2 separate regions of the Homo sapiens genome follow, and region 1 is linked to region 2. Evidence: promoter capture Hi-C in 16 types of primary human blood cells and fetal thymus (Javierre and others, 2016). All regions are on one chromosome and are shown on one strand. Each heading gives the region's core, a stretch centred on a gene start or on the middle of the fragment in contact. The rest is flanking DNA. Distances are from core to core; before and after follow the strand shown. Region 1 has its middle 20 kb from the start of ETV3L. Region 2 holds the start of ETV3 (ETS variant transcription factor 3).

Region 1 (2,700 bases), core at 137-2,636, 58 kb after region 2:
CCCAGGCTGGAGTGCAGTGGCGCGATCTCGGCTCACTGCAAGCTCCGCCTCCCGGGTTCACACCATCCTCCTGCCTCAGCTTCCTGAGTAGCTGGGACTACAGGCACCCGCCAACACGCCCAGCTAATTTTTTTGTTTTTGTACTTTTTTTTAGTACAGACGGGGTTTCACCATGTTAGCCAGGATGGTCTCGATCTCCTGACCTCATGATCCGCCCACCTCTGCCTCCCAAAGTGCTGGGATTACAGCGTGAGCCACCACACCCGGCCTAAATATTTCCCGGCCCAGAAGCTCATCTTGACACCACAGGCAGGGTCAACTGCCTTTCCTCTGTGCCTAGCTTTATCATAGCACTGACTGCATCGTGTGCAAATTACCCTGGAATGTAAGCTGCCCCAGGGCAGGGACGAGGCCCTATCAAGCTCTAGATAGGGCCTAGATAGGGTCTGGCATATGGCAACACGCAACAAGGGCTGCTGAACTAAAATCCAGGCTCCATGCTGTACTGGAGAGAAACTCTGACGGTGGCTGGGCTGTAGAACTTGCTTTGATGACCGTCTGTGATCTTAGACATGTCATTTCATCACCTCGAGCCCCAGCTGCCCCAACTATGAAACAGAGATGATACAGATATACTGGTACAGGTGCAAAATCACAAGGAAATTTGATGCAGCATGATTTCAAAAGAAAAATATCGGAAGCGCCTAAATGTCCACCTTTGGTGTGCTGATTAAACAAATAATGGTACATCCATACAACGGAACACTATGCACTGTCAAAAAGAAAGCAGAAGCTTATTATGTACTGATGTGGAATTACCTCTCAAGTTTGTCTTAAAAGAAAAAAGTGGGAGCAGAAGAGTATATGTGGGATTTTACTATTTGTTTAAGAAGGGGGAAAATACATATATAGATTTGTGTTGACTTGATTAGGTACTAAAATGCTTGAAAAGGACCGGGCACGGTGGCTCACGGCTGTAATATCAGCACTTTGGGAGGCCAAGGTGGGTGGATCACTTGAGGTCAGAAGTTCGAGACCAGCCCGGCCAACATAGTGAAACCCCATCTCTACTAAAAATAAAAAAATTAAAAAATTAGCCAGGTGTGGTGGTGCACGCCTGTACTCTCAGCTACTTGGGAAGCTGAGGCAGGAGAATCACTTGAACCCAGGAGGCAGAGGCTGCAGTGAACTGAGATCATGCCACTGTACTCCAGCCTAGGTGACAGAGCAAGACTCCACCTCAAAAATACATACATACATAAATAAATACATAAATAAATAAAATGTTTGAAAAGATAAACAAGAACAATAGAGGTTACCTATTGGGGAGAAGAAAATGGATGATAGAGGACAGAAGAGAAGTAGATTTTTCACTGCATATATTTTATACTTACGATTTTAAAACTACAATACCATATTACTTACATAAAATTTAAAAATTTTAAAGTAAATATTTCCTGCCCACCATTATTACCTCACAAGATCAAGTAGGAAGATCAAGTAAACATTGTAGGCAGGGCATGGGGGCTCACGCCTGTAATCTCAGCACTTTAGGAGGCCAAGATGGGCAGATCACTTGAGGTCAGGAGTTCAAGACCAACCTGGCCAACATGTTGAAACCCCATCTCTACTAAAAATACAAAAATTAGCCAGGCATGGTGGCGTGTACCTGTAATCCCAGCTATTCGAGAGGCTGAGGTGGGAGAAATGCTTCAACCCGGGAGGCAGAGGTTGCAGTGAGCCGAGATCACGCCATTGCACTCCAGCCTGGGCAACAAAGCAACACTGTCTGAAAAAAAAAAAAAAAAGTAAATATTGTAAAAGCATGTACTGTTGTTGGAAGGTGTAAGCAAGAATGACATTTTGTGGTGAAGCTACTGTGTTATACCTGTACTAATAATTATAATGACAAAGATACCTTCCCTTCTCCATCCGCATCTTTCTCCAACACACACCCTCCAGGGGAGCATCAAGCTTCACTATCATTTTACAGAATAAAGGAGACTGAAAGAAGGGAAGTGACAGCTATGTTGACACATGATCTCACACCTGCTTCTAACACAGAGAGTCCCACACATGAACCTTCCCCTAAAGGGCCTTATAATAGCACCCTCTTCAACAAGATCCTGCCTACTTCCTATCCTCCCTTTCCATGCCCCATGCCTACCTTCTCAGGGACCCCCACACAACCAGGGGCTCTGCCACAGATTCTCAAACATCTCCCTTCAATTCCACACATCATTTTCTCATTAGTCTAGTATGCACACTGGGTCTGCTGACCTTTCCTCATCCACCTTGGCATCCTCACAGAAACCTCAAGGCTGCAAAATCCAAATAGCAGCCCAATGGCAGGCTCCACACAGAGATAGCGGGTGCTGACTCTGAGAACTCGAAACAAACCCTGTCATCAGGATGATGGCCTTCTTACTTCTCATCTCTCTTCCTCTTTGTCAAATGTTTCAAAGAAACCAGAACTGGAGGGGACGAATGCTAAGGTTTGCTTCTGGAGAGCAGCCAGGTAATGTGTGCTAACACCCCAGGGATATCTGTAGAAAGGGTCTTCTATATTAAGGAATTCTGCATTCAGTCCTACTCAGTTCAAGGCATGGCTGAAAAGACCCTAATGAAATGATTAAACATATGGACTTTAATGTCACGTATTTATTTATTTATTTTTATTTTTATTTATTTATTTTTTGA
Region 2 (2,811 bases), core at 234-2,733:
CTAGCAAACATCTGATATCTACATGTAAGTTGCCGTTCTAGGTACCATGCACAAGATGCAAAGAATATATAGACAGTTCCTACAAAGAGCTAGTGGACTAGTTGCAGGTATCGGTAACCCTCTCTATGGTGTTTAAGTTCTGCTCCTTATTTTGTTCACCTACAGAGTAGGAAGTTCTAACTAGAAAAGACACAACAATGTTATCTTTTTTAAAAAACAGGTAAGGTAATTTTAGGCCAGAGGGAGCCAATTTACTAATTAATTTATCAAGAGCTACACAGTGACTAGTAGCACATTCAAAACTGGAAGCAATTTTTGTAACAACTAATATCTCCAAGTCCCATGTGGCAGAGACGGTGCAAAGGTCTTACTAGAGCAGAGGTACAAAGTTTTGATCCATTTGATCAAAATTGATCTTCAATTCTCCTTCAATCCCATCTCTCTTCTTCACCTCCCCCACGCTCGTATTTATTCTAAATTCTTTAACCTTTACTGATCCTCACTACTCCCTTTCTTCTGCCTCTGGAGTGAAACTATGCCTGGACACCACTCAGATTTACAGGGGTGGGACTGCAGATAAAGCTGAACTGCTTGAGATTCTTTATCCTTAATGAGCCTCTAAAGGAAGAAAAAATCATGCTTTGGACAGACAAATTGCCCGAGCAGGAACAAAAGGTAAAACCAAAAGGGGACACGCGTTTTAATGACTTAGGGAGAGGACTTGCAAGCTGCTTAGACTGGGACGAATTAAGACTAAATGCAGTGGGGTGGGAACTAGCGGGGAAGCGGTCATGCCCCCCAGTCTTCCCAGGGAGGAAATGCCAAAGCGACGTGCTTCAGAGAAAGCTTTGCGGTTTCTTTCATACGTATATGAAAGGGCCCTTTCTTAAAGGGTAGGGAAATTGCGTCTGAAGTCTGCGGGTCCCGTCTTCCCATTGTGAGGGATCCCCACTCTGGGAGGTCGCAGGGCCCATTTCTGGAGAAAGACGGGCCGCCTCTCTGTTGTGTGGGAGAGACTGTTTCCCGGCGCCTGGGCCTTCCTGTGGGGTCTGCGAGGTCCCCTCCCCCGGGAGGTGGGACCCCGGGGCAGCGCCTCGCCCCGCAAAGTCCGTTCTGCCTCACGGCGCAGGACTGGCGGGGGAAGCGTATAGCAGCTCAGCACCCCCTCGCGCCGCGTCACCCCTCGGCGTCTGGAGGACCCTGGCCCAGCAGCGGACCGGGCCGGCCGCCCGCCACGAGCGTGCGTAACGTGCCCCCGCAGCGTGACGCACGGGCCGTGCCGGGGCGGATGCGCGGGATGCGGGCCGGGAGGAGCGCGCAGGGGGAGGAGTGCGGGCGGAAGTCGGCGTCTGCTGAAAGGAGAAAGGAAAGGGAGACGCTGCTGGGTGCGGCGAGGTGAGGCTGGGAACCGGCGGGAGGGCGCCTCCTCCTCCCCCGCCCTCTCTGCTGAGGATGGAAGTGACGAAAGCAGCCGAGGAGGTCACTTCCTGCTGGGGTGGATGAGGAGGAGCCGGAGACGCCGCGGAGGAGACCGGACCGAAGACGGACCGTGCCGGGAAGAGGTGAGTCCCGGCCTCGCCTCGGCCGCCGGGGTGTCTGGGTTGGATCCGGGACCCTGGCGGGGACGGCGTCCCTGGAATCGGGGCCGGCCGCCAGGCCGCGTACCCACCCAGCTGGGCCTCACCCAGTGCGGGGGGCGGGGGAGGGTGGGATCCCGTGTCTGTCTGAGGGGCGACAGGGACCCAGGGCAGCGTTCATGCGGTGGCCCCGCGCAGCCCTGAGGCCACGGTTAAGGGAAGCCCGGCCCGGGAGGTGAATGGCAAGGAGGTTCTGGGGGCTGTGGAAGCCAGGACCCGGAGCTGCTGCGGGAAACCCGCAGCGCCAGACTGTGCATGCCTCACTCTTCGGGGAGTGGTCGCGATCAGAGGAAGGGCAGGGGTCCTGTGGTTTGCAGAGTTGAGACGAGTGGCCCTACTTGGATGGAAGTGTCCTTGCAGTGAATATGCGAAAGGCGTGCAGAGGCGCCCCAGGGCTCCTGGGAAAGGGACTTTTATGGGGAAAATTGGAGAGCTGGAGTGTCAAGAGAGGGTTTCCTTGTCAGGTTATCGTTGCAACGGGATTTGGACCCCAGGGTCGTGATGGTTGGAGGGAGTTCTGTGGCAGGGTAAAAGGCCTCGCGATCTGACAGCGCATCCTAGGAGTTAAGAGTCCAGGGCAGCTTCCTGGAGCAGTGGGGAAATTCGTGTTTTTCCTCCCTCATTGTCACTAAGGTGGAAGAGGAAGCTCCTGCCTCAGCCCCGGTGCCTCGTTATTATGTATCTCGTGTGTGTGTGAGAGTGTGTGTGTGTGTGTGTGTGTGTGTGTGTGTTTTTCCTTGTCTGCTCCTTCCTTTGGGGTGTTTATCTTGTCCTCGGCCGCTAGTAGTTTTGTAGACTGACACTTGCTGGTCTCCTTAATGTGTTTGGTGAGAAAAAATATTCAAAAGATCTAGAGAAATCCTAGGTTAGGTGAAATTTCCAAGATAAGGAATTTGTCCCTACGCGGGGGCCACTTAGGCATTCTCTCCAGATGCCTGCTAATGTGGATGCTGAGGGCCTGTCATCCACCCTGGGGAACAGCGAGGGTAGATCTGCCCTCCCTCCATGTCCCTCTGGCAGTTTCACCCCTCCCTCCTTTTTGCTAAGTGATTAACACAAAGCTCCTTGCTGGGAGGAACAGGAAATTTATTGAGGAACTGTAAATCTGGATGGAATGAATTCAAATCGCAGCAAGACTCCTTCCACTCACTGGCCAGAAGGGCTTCAGAAATGC

What was found. The method cuts DNA at HindIII sites, captures the fragments that hold promoters and counts their contacts. A CHiCAGO score of 5 or more calls a contact.
Region 1: a fragment that was not itself captured here is called in contact with the fragment with the promoter of ETV3 in region 2 in 4 of 17 cell types (naive CD8 T cells, total CD4 T cells, activated CD4 T cells and 1 more); the score reaches 6.2 in naive CD8 T cells.

What each region holds. Positions count from the first base shown.
Region 1 is chr1:157,078,612-157,081,311 of GRCh38, reverse strand. No RefSeq gene overlaps it. Among named protein-coding and RNA genes, the nearest start is that of ETV3L, 20 kb to the left of the region's middle. The HindIII fragment of the contact is 1,181 bases long and covers 796-1,976 here.
Region 2 is chr1:157,137,067-157,139,877 of GRCh38, reverse strand. ETV3 (ETS variant transcription factor 3) reads left to right here and starts at 1,483. Exons shown (of 5, transcript NM_001145312.3): 1 at 1,483-1,562. RefSeq lists an enhancer at 419-1,024 and silencers at 956-1,325, 1,376-1,711, 1,556-1,745. The HindIII fragment of the contact is 2,762 bases long and covers 849-2,811 here.